Linked DNA regions of Homo sapiens: all the other regions are linked to region 3. Evidence: promoter capture Hi-C in human tissues and cell types (Jung and others, 2019). All regions are on one chromosome and are shown on one strand. The core of a region is centred on a gene start or on the middle of the fragment in contact, and the rest is flanking DNA. Distances in the headings are between cores, read along the strand shown.

What was found. Contacts are between HindIII fragments. The study calls those that stand out against the background at their distance.
Region 1: a fragment that was not itself captured here is called in contact with the fragment with the promoter of BOD1L2 in region 3 in 2 of the 25 tissues and cell types used here (H1 embryonic stem cells and mesendoderm cells).
Region 2: a fragment that was not itself captured here is called in contact with the fragment with the promoter of BOD1L2 in region 3 in 6 of the 25 tissues and cell types used here (H1 embryonic stem cells, adrenal gland, heart left ventricle and 3 more).

The regions. Positions count from the first base shown.
Region 1 is chr18:57,322,239-57,327,024 of GRCh38, reverse strand. No RefSeq gene overlaps it. Among named protein-coding and RNA genes, the nearest start is that of ST8SIA3, 28 kb to the left of the region's middle. The HindIII fragment of the contact is 5,987 bases long and covers 1-4,786 here.
Region 2 is chr18:57,287,941-57,292,451 of GRCh38, reverse strand. No RefSeq gene overlaps it. Among named protein-coding and RNA genes, the nearest start is that of ST8SIA3, 62 kb to the left of the region's middle. The HindIII fragment of the contact is 3,065 bases long and covers 754-3,818 here.
Region 3 is chr18:57,145,431-57,150,123 of GRCh38, reverse strand. It overlaps BOD1L2 (biorientation of chromosomes in cell division 1 like 2), which reads right to left and starts at 3,037. Exons shown (of 1, transcript NM_001257964.2): 1 at 1-3,037. The coding sequence starts at 2,811. The coding sequence ends at 2,293. RefSeq lists an enhancer at 2,273-2,868. The HindIII fragment of the contact is 20,182 bases long and covers 1-4,605 here.

The DNA of each region.
Region 1 (4,786 bases), core at 1,557-4,056, 180 kb before region 3:
GGAAACAAAGGTGATTTTGCTTCAGATTCTTCAGAGATAGCAATATGTCAGCAGCCCCCAGAGAGGCTGAAAGTAAATGAATCAGTGCTAGAAAGTGAAGGATACCATCCGCACTGAATGGTGAAAAGGACTCCTGAACAGTATCTTCATTGATTTTTTTCTGTAATTGACACAGCATCCTGGTTTGCCTTCAGGCTTCAGAAGGAGAAAACGGGGAGCCCATGTACACAGAGCTTCCTCGTGTTGGAATTTAATAAAAAAAATTCCCTGGAATGAACTCCTTTTTCTTTCCCTTCATCATTCCTCTTTCTGTCTCTGCTGTCTCTCTCTTCTTTCTATTTCCTTTCTTTCTCCCTCCTTGCCTCTCCTTCCCCAGGTCAATCTCTCTCTCTCTCTCTTGCTCTCTTTCTCTCTCTCTCTCTCTCTCTCTCTGTCACACACACACACACACACACACACACACACACACACACACACAATTTCCTTTTGTTCAAAATAAGAGCTTAGACAATAATTACCACAATATGGGCAACCTGCTTTTGCTGGATGTGACATCGAGGACCTTAGGAAAGAAAAAAAATAGCACATTCCATCTTTCATGTTGGCTTAAATCTCATTTGAACAGAAGCTCAGTATTTTTCCGGGAAAATAAAAATATATCACTCACAGTTGCTATATCTGAGAACTGCCCTTTGGAGTAGAACGCAGAGAGAAGGCCTGGGCTCCCTTTGGGGGCTCCACCACACAGGAGATGGAAGAATCATCCCCTCACCTGCAGAGCCACCCCCATGGGCCTTGGTGGGCAGAGCCTGGTTCCTGCCTTGTTGCTAGTTATGGATTTCACAGATGAGGAAAGCGCAGTGCAGTCAGATAACTTTAAGGAGAGTCTCCAAAATGGACCCCTATGTAGGACCAGCCTGATAGCTGAGTAGGAGCATTGTTCCTAGAAGCTGCCTTGATAAAGCTGGGAGACAAAGATCATTGAGAAGGACTGTCTGCAGATTTATCAGCAGCTGCTGGGACGTGCCCAAGGAAAACAGTATTTGGTGCTAGGGAAGGCAGATTGCCTGATAATCTCTCTTTGTACCAGAAATGTTTGCCTAAGTGTGCTCAGAGGCATCAGACAGCATTTCAGACATTTTAGCATAAAAATATTCCATTAGGCCAAAAGCTAGTCTTGGCACAAAAGGGGTTCAAAAATTAAAATGAACCTAAGAGTGTTTTTTCTGCCTTTTGTTTGTTTGTTTTATAGTTGGCCTCAAATTTGCCTTTGGTATCCATATTCACATATTCAACAAATATTTATACATTTCTTGCTATGTGGAAGGCACTGTGTGCTATGTGGTGAATATGATAGTTAGCAAATCTGGTGGAATGTTTTCTTTAGTGAGGGAGATACACTTTGATCCAAGACTTTTACAAATGTAAACTACCAGCAGGGTAGGGGTTATGGAGGAGAGGTGGTGGTCACAAGAGGGATAACAGAGGGAACTGGCTTGTCAAGGAGGTCAGAAAACAGTTCCCTGAAAATGTAATGACTGGAAGCTGAAGCTGGAAGCTGAAATCTGCAGGAAGCATAGGAGTTAATTAGGGCAAGAAAATGGGAGAGTGTCTAAGAATAAGGTAAGAATGTGCAAAGGCCCTGTGGCATGGTGGTTTCAAAGAGCTAAAATAAGCCACAACTGATTGGCTAGCATCAGGGGTGAGGAGAATGGTAATAAATGAAGTTGGAGAGTCAGGCCAGAGGCCAGGCTGTGTTAAAAATTTTGGTCTTTATCGGAAAAGCTTTTGAATGGCTTTTAAGCAGCGTGTGTGTGTTTGTGTGTGTGTGTGTGTGACACACACAGAGAGAGAGAGAGAAAGAGAGAATAGGTGATATAGAGAAGTGGATGGAATCCATAGATATTTGGATTTCTGGCCTGAGCAAACTCATGGATGAAGGGTGGTAGTATTTGCTGATGCAGAGAACCATGGAGAAGGAGTGAATGTGGGATGAACATGAATTTGATATGAGTCATGTTGGGTTTGAGGCATCTTTGAAAAACCTACATGAAGATGCTGGGTTAAACCTCCCCATGCTCACAACCCTTGTTGTTTTGGGTTGTTCTTCTAAGTGTCCCTGGCTGGCGGGAGACCTGCCCTCCACAGGGGCCAGCCTGCTAAGCCCTGCACTTTTGCCCTGAGCAAGGCTTCTTAGAGGGGTGTGCCCTCCGCATAGTTCTGTGTCCTGTTGGAAAGGGGTCTGAGAAATTAGCTGAACGAAGGTGGCAATGACTCTGAAAGCCACTGTGAACCTCCTCATAGGTACTTGTTGTTTAAGAATGACACCTGAGCCTCTCAAAGTTACAAAGCCCTTTCTCAACCACAGGACTATTGACATTTTGGACAGGATAACTCTTTGTGGGAGGCTGTCATCTGCAACGTAGGATGTTTGTTTAGCAGCTTCCCTTCCTTCTACTCACTAGTTGTGACAATCAAAAGTGTCTCCAGATATTGTCAAATGTACCTCGGGTCGGGTGGAGGCAGAATTGCTACTGATTGGGAACTGCTGCCATATACAATTTCATTTGGCCCTTATCATATCTAGGTGGGCAGAGCAAGTTTTGTCATATGAGAAAACCGAGGCTCAGAAAGTTTAAGTTGTTTGCCCAAGATCACACAGCTACACATTTGTGGAACTGGGATCAGAGCCTAATTCTTTTGACTCCGAGTGTGGGCCCCCTTCCATGTTTTTTTTTAAACAGTACTGCTTTCTAGTTAAGGCATAGCAATGATGATGAATTTCCTGTCACTGTGGCAAACTGCTAGGAGAAGATATTTTCTGCTTCTACCTAGGTAGCCCATTAGTCAACTTCATCAAATGAGGTTGACACCACAGAACATCCCAAATGCTAATGACAGAAATTGATGGTGCTAAAATGCTGTTGTGTGTGGTGATGGTGGGAGGATCAAATATCACATTCAGTATTCAAAATTCTAATAAGGGAAGTGGATTAATATTTGTCATTGACTCATTTTTTCTTCACAACCACTCTGTGGTATTGTGGAGGTAGGTATCATGAGTCCCATTTTATGGACAAGTAAACTGAGGAAACTTAACATAAGTTACATGCCCAAGGTGGCTCAGCTAGCAAGTAGCCAAGCTGGGATTGAAACTCAGGTTGGGGTAAAGGTAAATTCCTGAATGCTCCTGAATGCAGCCCTGCTGATTCCTCATGGGGTGCATGGGCTGAACCAGATGGCCTTGAAGGGCCCTTTTAATGCTCCCATTTAATGATTTCAATTACAAAAACACTGTTAGGGGTGAAAAAAAGCACCCAATATAATCCTAATGTGAGTGGTCTGTTTCTTTGTGCTGTTTTTCCTTGAATACCAGGGGTACCTCTGTGGATGTGTGGAATACTGATATGGGTTGGCTGTGTCCCCACCCAAATCTTATCTTGAATTGTAGCTCCCATGATTCTCATGTGTTGTGGGAGGGAAATTGAATAACGGGGGTGAGTCTTTTCCATGCTATGCTCATGATAGTGACTAAGTCTCACAAGATCTGATGGTTTTATAAAGGGGAATTTCCCTGCACAAGTTCTCTTCTCTTGTCTGCTGCCATGTGAGATGTGCCTTTCACCTTCCACAATGATTGGCAGGCCTCCCCATCCATGTGGAACTGTGAGTCCATTAAACCTCTTTCTTTTGTAAATTGCTCCATCTTGAGTATGTCTTTATCAGCAGCATAAAAATGGACTAATACAAATACTAATGCCCATTTTTGCCCCGTCTTATTAAAAAATCAGACTCCAAATAAAGCAGTAAAACAAAGCTTGTGGAACTTTCTTAACAAAGAGACATTGGTCCACTCCACTCCTTTTTCCTTTATAGCAGTCTGCTTTGACCTGGGGAAGGAGGTGGGATTTGCTGGGGAATAATTAGAAGTGAAAAGATTTAGAAGTGGCCTAAAGACCCAAAAGCAGGACAGACACTGGGCAAACTCTTTGGGTGGGAGGAGGCTTTCCTAGCCTCCCATGACCTCCTTTTACTCTGGGCTCCTTTGTTCCATACTCCCTCCCTCCCCCTGGAAGTGCACAGTGTCCTAAATCAGAGGATTGCTACTCCAACTACACATTAGAACTGCCCAGGAGACTTTAAAAATATATACCGGGTCCCCCACAAGATCAATTAATTCAGAACTTTGGGACTGGGGCGCATGATTCTAATGTCTCACCAGGGCTGAGAACCATTGCCATCTTTATCAAGCTCATCTGTCCTGGCTTCCATTCTTTTTGGGGACTTGATGAGAGTAAGCTGTTAATGTGAGAAGCTGGATTAGACTAAGATGTTAGAAGTTACAATCGTTTAATGGGTCAGTCTTTGAGGTGATGTATTTGTATCTTTATAGGAACCTTGGTCTATTCCTGCCTGTTCCTTCCCTGCCAAACTGCAGGTAATAAAGGACCATCACTGTTAGAGTCCCCGCCAGACTCCTCTGGCAACATATGGGGAACTCCTCACCACCAGTGAGGTGGGGGTATCTGGGGAAGGTCTGATGCTCACATAATGGGCTCCCCAAATTGCTGCTATTAGCCACTTCTTCCATCGCACTCCTGAGCAAGAGCCATGGCTATCCATGTGCTCAGCCCTGATCCAGACAACAGACGATCCTGACTGAGGCAAACCTGGCACATCAGCCTAGAAGGGCAGAATTAGGTTAGCTGCCAAGGATGGAACAGATCTCACATAAACAGTTTTGCCCCCTTCTTTCCCATATTAACCTAGCCCATACCACTGGACT
Region 2 (4,511 bases), core at 1,037-3,536, 140 kb before region 3:
TCACATGTCCCCAGGCTCACTGATGACGCTCAGAACTTACCTCTGTCCCCACAACAAGCTATGGCTTTGCTTCTACTGGGATGGGCCATCATGCTCAGATCTGACGTTGCCAAAAGCTGGTGAGAGAATTCAGCCAAAGCCAGCTCTTCAGCAGAGGAAACAACAGTCCTGTGAAGTGAGGATGATAATAGAGATCTGTTGCTACCTCTCGCAATTTATTTTACCTCTCTATGCCTCAGTGTTTCAATATGAAAGTGGGGACATCTACATTCCTGGTCTTGTAAGGAAGCTATCTTAGTCTGCTTGTGCTGCTCTAACAGAATCCCCAAGGCTGGCTAGTTTATAAAAAACAGAAGCTCATTTCTCACAGTTCTTGAGGCTGGGAAGCCCAAGATCAAGGCACCAGCATCTGGTGAGGACCTTCTTCCTGTATCCTCACATGACAGGAAGGCAAGAGAAACTGAAGGCTGACTGAAGCCTCTTTTATAAAGGCCTTAAGGTTATTTACCAGGGAGTTCTCATGACCTAATCATCGTTTATAGGCCCTACCTCTTAATACTATCACATTGGCAACTCCTGAATTTTGGAGGGCACACATTTAAATTATGGCAGAAGGCCGAGCACAGTGGCTCACACCTGCAATCCTAATAGTTTGGGAGGCCAAGGCAGGTGGATCACCTGAGGTCAGGAGTTCGAGACCAGCCTGGCCAATATTGGGAAATCCTGGCTCTACTAAAAATACAAAAATTAGCTGGGTGTGGTGGTGCATGCCTGTAATCTCAGCTACTCAGGAGGCTGAGGTGGGAGAGTCGCTTGAACCTGAGGCAGAGGTTGTGGTGAGCTGAGGTTGCAGCACTGTACTCCAGCCTAGGTGAGAGAGTGAGATTAACCTCTCAAAACTGAAATGAAGTAAAATAAAATAAAATAAATTATAGCAGAAGCTATGAAAAAATGAATTAGAGTGATGAGAGACTTCTGAGAGAATCCTAAAAGCAAAAAATATGTGAGTGCTATTTTTACTATTAGAAGTTCTGTGAAGATTAATTTTAAAAAGGTTGCAAATACTCTTGAAGATCTCTGAGCATGGCGTATGAATTGCTGAATGTGCTGGAACCTCCCCATATCATGCCCTTCTATGGTACCCTGATCACATGCACCATCCAATCACATAGATAACTCTGTGATTATTGTTGTTGTTGTTGTTTTTTTTTTTTTTTTTTTTAAGAAACAATAATTTTGAAACAGGGTAACACAAAAGGTAAGGGAGCAATTAGTAGCATGTATGTCATGAAGCACCCTGTAGATCACTTATATTAAATTCCAAGTCCTTTTATTAAAAAGCACAAATCTTTTCATTTTTGTGAAGAGCTTCCTAAAGACTAGGATGGTTAAATAAAAGGTAATCTGGCGTAGAAGGGAAGCATGAAAGAATTTCCAAAGTATGTTGCTCACCCCTCAATGTGGACACAAACTACCCTAGGCATGAGCATTGGGTTGACATTGGTTGGCTTCTGTAGCAGATGCCCATAGCCCCTTGAGTCTCCAAAAGGCCAATGGCTTCCTCCTGCAAGGAAACATGATTCTGCTTGAGGGCTTTCCCTGCCACTGGAGTGAATTGCTCAAGAGCCCCCCTCAACCCAAGCCAAATGAAAGTTGGTGGTTAAGCTTCCTCATTCCCTGAGTAGGATAAATCTGAGGTGTGTCCTACTCGCTGTCCCAGAGGCCCTCAAAGGCATTGGGCCTCAATTTCCCACAGTGGCAACCTGGGCATTCATAACTTTATTGGCTTCCTTTGCTTACTTTGCTCAATTTCCCACTAGCCAGTATACTATGCTTCCTGAGAACACTTCCCAAATAAACTGCATGTTCCAAGACTCTTGTCTGAGGGATTGCTTCTAAGGAAACCCAAACTAAAACACCTTTTTTTTTTGAGTGATATATTTTGGTGCCCAATCTAACCATTGAATATGGAGTCGTGTTCATAAGGAATAAGAAATGAAAAAGAAAAAGTTGGAAAATTTTCCAGTGTCAGACTTTCCCATCCTTGAAGCTTGCATGGGAAGAAATCAGAAAAGAAATGCCTGGGGAAAAATTTGACAGAATCAGAAATCTCCAAGTTTGGGTGTATCTATGGAACACAGTTGTGTTGACAATAGAGTTTGGTGAATTAAAAAATGATTCCTGTGATGAGAAAATTAGACTTTCCCAATAATAAAAATAATCATTCAACATGAATTTTAAAAATCATCACAGTTAATCCTGATGCAAACCCAGGACTAAGACCTACTACTCTATTCATTTAGGTTTATGACATTAAAATGCCATTATGATAGCACTATTTATTTTCTGTTTCTGTGAGCCAGACATTGTGCTACGTCCTTTGCATATGCTATCTCATCTAATTGTGACAGCAACTTTTGAGGTAGGAATTGCTTTTTTTGTTACCTGTATTTTGCAGATGGTGGGTCTGTGTTGAGTAGTTAAGAAACTTGCCTGAGACTGCACAGTTTCCTGCTTTGTAACTGAAATTCAGGCTGAAATTTAGCTTCCTGCTTTTCTCAGGCTCAACGTGTTTGTATACTTTCTCTCTTTCTTAGTGAAATTTACCAAAGATTCGTCTCGTCAAAGGACAAGCATTGTTTTTGTTGATTAATTTATAATTTCTTTTAAAATTATTTTTACTTCCTTTCGTCTACTTTCCTTGGATAATTTTGTTGTTGTTGTTTTTGCACTTCCTGATTTGAAAGTTAAGTTCATTTAACTTCAATCTTTTGTGCTAATAAACTTGTTTACTGCTATTCATTGGCTTCTAAGTACCACTTTGGCTGCATCCCATAAGTTTTGTCATGTAGTGTTCTTGAGTTGTAAACAGTTTGTAATTTTCTTGTATTTCTTATCAAGCTTGGGAGTTATTTGAAAATCTGTTTTCAGATGTTTTTTGTGGTTATCTATTTGTTGTGGATTTCTAACTGGATTACATTGTAGTCAGTAAATACTCAACATAATAACAACTTTTTCTTTTTGGTCTATTAACAGAGCAAGGGAAGTTCCAGAATTGCCAATGGGTAGAAGGGAATGCTGCACCTGTATTGGCTCCATAGCTTTTACCTAAAATTGAAGAAATATCATTTGTTCATGTTAAAGAATGGGAGGGATGGCTGAGGGGGATTATGAGAAAACCAGAATCCTTCTTCCTACCCTCAAGCCTGTCACTGGTACAGACCATTAAAAATAATTTTTGGCCAGGCACGGTGGCTCACGCCTGTAATCCCAACACTTTGGGAGGCCAAGGCTGGTGGATCACGAGGTCAAGAGATCAAAACCATCCTGGCCAACATGGTGAAACCCCATCTCTACTAAAAATACAAAAATTAGCTGGATGTGGTGGCCCATGCCTGTAGTCCCAGCTACTTGGGAGGCTGAGGCAGGAGAATTACTTGAACCTGGGAGGCGGAGGTTGCAGTGAGCTGAGAGTGCACCACTGCACTCCAGCCTGGTGACAGAGCGAGACTCCATTTCAATAATAATAATAATAATAATAATATTTTTATATTCCCTCCCCACCTTTGTATTTCCTAGCTTGGTGACTTGGTCAAAATAAATCTTTAACATATGTTGAATTGAACAGTTACACCCATCATAAAATAATTAGCACTATGTACTAATATAAGATGCATCAGCAGAGAGAGCAAAAAGAATTAGAGACAAGATTGGGGTGTCCAGGAGTCACCAACTGCCCTGAGGGAGGAAGTGATCGTTGAACAGGGCCCTGCAGGAATAAGATGAGGCAAAGTGGAGTGGAGCAGGGTGCTTTCCATGCAGAGAGAAGGATCAGCAACCTGGTGGTGGTGTCAGTGCAAATCATGTTCATCAGCATGAAGGGAGAAATGTAACAAGTAGAGTTTGACTGCAGCAAAGAATTCATGCTTTAGAGTAATGGGAAATCAGGGTGACTGAGCAGGATAGGACCAGCATATTCAGGCATTTTAAGTTTAGAGCAAGAACTTTAGTTTCATATGGGAAACAGGAGTCACCATTGATGAGGCTCGACAGATGTGTTAAGGGGGTTAATCTAGCAGAGATGGGCCACATGAATTAGAAAGGAGAGAATAGAGTGATAATGAAGATGATGGTATAAGTATAGGGGATGTTAAGAAGGAAGAATTGGCAGGACTTGGGGACTAATTAAATGTGAGGGTTGAGAATAGGAAGGAGAAAAAGATGACTCCTTGGTATCCAGTCTGGTGGGCTGGAAGATGGTAATGACACTCAAGACCCAGGATAGTAGGTCTTAAAGAAAGACCATGAGTTTGGTTTTAGATATGTCGAGATGGAGAACCTCTGAGGGGAAAGGTTTGAAAATCATCAGACTGGAGAGAGAGAGGTGGCAGAAAGGTTGCAGAGAAAGCTGCAAAAGCCAGGGAGATAATTTTAAGGAAGTCTGTGTGCCTGTGTGTGCACCTGTGTGAATGCATGGGAGGGCAAGGGTTGGTGGGGGAGTTGTCAATTGT
Region 3 (4,693 bases), core at 1,788-4,287:
ACAAATAACTTTTTAATACAAGTATGTTTCAAATATTGCACGGTCCATGCCCTAGGAGAGTATCTGTTGTTTCTCTGAAATTCACATTTGCTGAGCAACCTGTATTTTATCTGGCAACCTGTCTCAGGACAATTCAAGTAGAAAAGGAGAATAGAGAACTGGTAAAGGAAAAAAAAAACTTTAAAAGTTGTATTACACTTTATTACGTTATTTTTAAAAAGAAGAAGGAGAACAAACCCCAAACCAAAAATCACTTCCGCAACACATTTCTTAAAAGCAGAAATTAGGTTCCTTTTATGTTAGTGCAAAGATAGGTGCCAAGCTGGGGTCTCAGATGGAGTGATTTTAAATCTCAGAAAGAGCTTAGCTGTTTTTGTAAAAAGGAAAGTTGGCAAGTGATTAGTGCCGATGTGGCCCAGCTGCTCTTTTGTACTTCGAAAGAAACAATTAAAATGGCTGGGACATTAAACTTTAAAGAGCTGGGTTGTTCATATTCAGAAGCTAATTTTAAAAAGAGCCTGGTACCTGGGAAAGGAAGGGACATTTTCAGAAAGGACATGGTCTTCTACCTTCTGGACTCTAAATTTTGAAGAATCATTTAAAATAGCTCATAGGTAAACATTACAGATAAAATACCTCCAGGGATAAGAAAGCTCTTTCTTGCTTAGACATGTAGACACTAGATGCAAAATTAATTTTTGTTCACTTTTTAGATGATAAATACTGCCATCTGAGAAATTAAATGTTGGAAAAGACAAATCCAGAACTGGTTTCTTTCTACAAATTGCTGAGCTCCTGTGATGTGCTAGGTCCTGGGGTTAAGGAAAAGAAATGAACAAAGCAAATCCCTGCCCTGGAGGAAGCTCACATTTAAGTGGGGATGACAGATCTGTAAGCAAAGACAGTTCACTGTGGTGAGGTGGTGTGGCTAAAAGCATGGTTAAAAGGGTTAAAAGTGAGGGCTCTGTGCTCAATACAGGCTCAGCCCCAGCCCCACCACTTAGGCAGTGTCTGAGCTTTGGTTTCTACATTTATAAATGGGAATAAAAATGGGAATAAAGATACGATTTCTTCAATTAGATCATGAGGACTTACTACGGTAAGCGAAGTTAAGCGTTTAGTACACTGCCAGCTGTAGAGCAATAGAGCAAGTGCTTCGTCAGACCTAGCTACTATAGTAAGTGTGGTCATCCCTTATGAGATCTATGGGAGCACAGAGGAAGGAGTCTGTCACTCCTGCTTAGACGATGTGTGGCTCCTCAGGAGCTGAGTCTTAAAGGAGGGTAGGAGTGGTTGAGGGCATTCCCTTCACAGTGAGCAGAGGGAACACAGGGTGTCCAGGATAGTCATGGGCATGGTTGTCATATGAGAAATGACAGTGTACGGGGCAGCAGAGGTGACCAGGGGCCCCATTATCACGGGCCTCATAAACCATGCCAGGTGTCTGACCTTCTAGAAATATCAGAAAACTGACGGAGCTTAAAGAGGAAAAGGATGTAAATCTGCATTTCTTTTTTGTTGTTGCAGTTGAAAGATAAGCCATTTATTGACCATCCACTTTTCAAATAAAACACAAATGTGAGCATAACATAAACACACCCAAGACTCACTAGCCCCTGCAAGACAGGAAGCATTCTTGGACAGAGAGTCTGCAAATGAGTTTCCTTATACCTAATGTCTGAACTTCTCACTCATTCTAGGGTTTCATGCTTTGTTATCTCTTACAAAGGAAAGGAAACTGGCTAGAAGATTCATGTACAAGAAGGTCACAACTTCAAAGCTATCTGACACTAATGTTGTGTACAATCTAGTTTGCAACTCTGAGAGACAATATCAAATAAGTACTGTCAAATATTCCTCCCAGTTAACCTTTACTGTCATTGTTCTTTGAAATTGTCTTTGGGATTGGTTATGTTCTCTCGCTGTAGCTTTCGTTTATCTCAGAGCACAAACCCTAAAATCCATGTGCAGTCTCCATGTTCAAGTATAGATGTCTGTTTCAGGACAATCCTGGGTCGCGGTAGTGTTTCCCTCTCTGTAGTGTGTGTTTGGTGTCATGCCCTTGGAAAGGCTGGCCAAATGGCAGCGCAATGCAGGAGGGTGCCACGGTCAACTTTCTCTCTGGCGAACTTGCTTCCCTTTCAATCTGGTCACTGCTCATGGTCGAGGTGGAAATCTTGAGCTCAGTGATGAACTTGGCTTATCTTCAATCTGAAACTGCACTCTTATGTAACCGAATCCATTTCTTCACCAAAAATTAAATAGCGCTTTCAAAAGCTGTCAGGCATATTCTTAGGAAGTGTCCTGAGACGGAGCTGGAGGGTCCTGGCCTTCTGGCTCTGGAGGGAGTGCTGGCACAGCTGCTTCTTTCTGGGCCACCAGGAATTCATGAATTATTTGTTCTATTTGTGGCCTGAAGATGTGGTTTAGTTTTGGATCCACCACCTGAGAACTAATCCTGTCCACTCCAGCTTCTGACCTCCCTGACTGAACCACACTCTGCCTCAGACCATCGTGCAGTTGGTTGTCGTTTGCTGGAGGATTCCATTCCTGCTTGTCCAGATGTGTCGACACAAAATTATCCGCTTTCTGGCTCAGGTTTTGGTAAGCTGGCTTGGTGTCCACGTCAGCCTTGCAGTCCCGGCGGAAGCTGTCAAAAAGGCCCCTGCTCTTGAGCTGCCCCACGATGATAGCGATGAGCTGAGGGTCGCCAGGGGGCAACGAGGCCGGGTTGATGGGGCCGCCGCCCCCGCTGGCCCGGGTCGAGGCCGGGCCCGCACCGCCGCTGCCGCCGCCGCCACCGTCCGCCATGGCTGCGCACCGGGCCCACAAGGAAACCGATTATAGCTTCTTCTCCAGGACAGAAAGCCTAGAATGTGTAGAGGTGGCTAAGGGGGCGGTGAAGGAGGAGGGCCCCAAGGAGGCAGCGGCGGAGGTGACGGTGGTGGTGATGGCGGCGGGGCCGGTGGTTGGGGCGGCGGTGGGGGAGGCCAGCTCCAGACCGCGGAGGTTGTGGAAGACGCGGCAGCAACCGCCTGCTGGATTCCAAGCGCGCTCCAGATGGCGTCACCGTTGACCTTTGCATTGTGAGGCGGGAACCGTAATCTGCATTTCTTAAAAGATCTCTAAGAGGGAGGTGGGAAACAAATGCCAGTGGGCAAGGGCGAAACAGGGAGACAATTTCAGCAACCATTTCAGTGCCCTAAGAAGGAGATGGCGAGGAGTGAATGATCTTCGTGGCCTGGCAGGTGAAGAAGGTAACAGGGATACAAGAGATATTTAGGAGATAGACTCATCCCAGGGATTGGAGAACAACGGGGTGAGGGACGAGGGAAAGGAGAGGGTCAAGGATGACCCCCAGGCTTCTCACTTGGGCAGGTGCATGGAGGTGCCATTTACTAAATGGAGAACAGGTATAGAGGTGAGGATGGGAGACAGAGACATGATCGTGCATTCCATTTTTATTTACTAGTTTAAGATGGGTATGGGTTATTCAGATGCAGACATCTGCCTATGAAGTCCAAAGATACAAGGACTAGGGGCTGGGGAGAGACATCTAACTCACTGAAGGTAGAGACTATAGGTGGCAATTACAATGGAGAACTTAGAAGAGATAGAGGAACACCTGGAGAGCCCATGAGGGGGACTGAGAACAACACTAAAAAGATGGAGGGAAAACTACAAAAGCCTTGGATCATAGACCGCAAAAGGTACATTTCATGAAGGCCATGGGTGAAATGCCACACTATGTTCCACAAGGTGTCCATTGGCTTTGGTAGCCATTGATGAGCCTAGGGCAGATGTGTCAGTCAGAAGGAGGTCATTTCAACAAGAGAACTGTATTGCAACCAAGAGCCACAAAAGGCAACCACATCCAGCGCCATCCAATAGAGAAGTGCAGGTGCACAGAAAGAACCTTCTATCAATATTTCAAAAGAAAAGCAGATCCCTGATTTCACCCCAACACTCACTTCCCTGAATTAAAATGCCCCTGAGATGTAGACACCACATTGTTCTATAAGCCGTAACATAGCTTAAAGGTAGTATATTTCACAAAGAAAGTTTACACAACAGACTCTGTCAATAACCTCACCCCATAGCTTCTGACATACAAGTACAGATGCCTCAGATGGACGTATTCTGAATCTCATCCCACAGGAGACAGTGAACCTACCAAGACTTCACCACAGCAACCCCCTACCTATGCTCCTCACCATCCCCATGATCAGCTCGACAATTCAGTTCTGTATTTTTTTAAATTAATCAATATTTATTGAGGGACTAGTCGATGTGGCCCTGTGCTAAGCTTTATGGAGCTCTCCACGTGCCTGGCCCAGTCTAACACTCAATAAATGTTTGCTGTGGCTGTTGTTTAAGACAGGCAACATGGCCAGCCTTTGAAAAGCTTACAATCTAGTTGGAGAGGGGAGATGTTGACAGAGAAAACCATTGAGGACATACACAAGCTCCATGGGAACTTAGATGCAACATGCACACCTAGCATGGTGCCTGGAACAAAAGAGAGGCACCATTAATATTTGCAGAATAAAGATTGCATAGATGAAAGGAGGGTGTCCCTGTCATGTGTTGGAGAACACTGAAGCCTGGGAGAACGTGGCAGATGGAAGAAGACTTTGCAGAAGTGCTGGAGCCTGAACTGAGTCTTCATTTATCCCCTCACTGTGCATGAGCC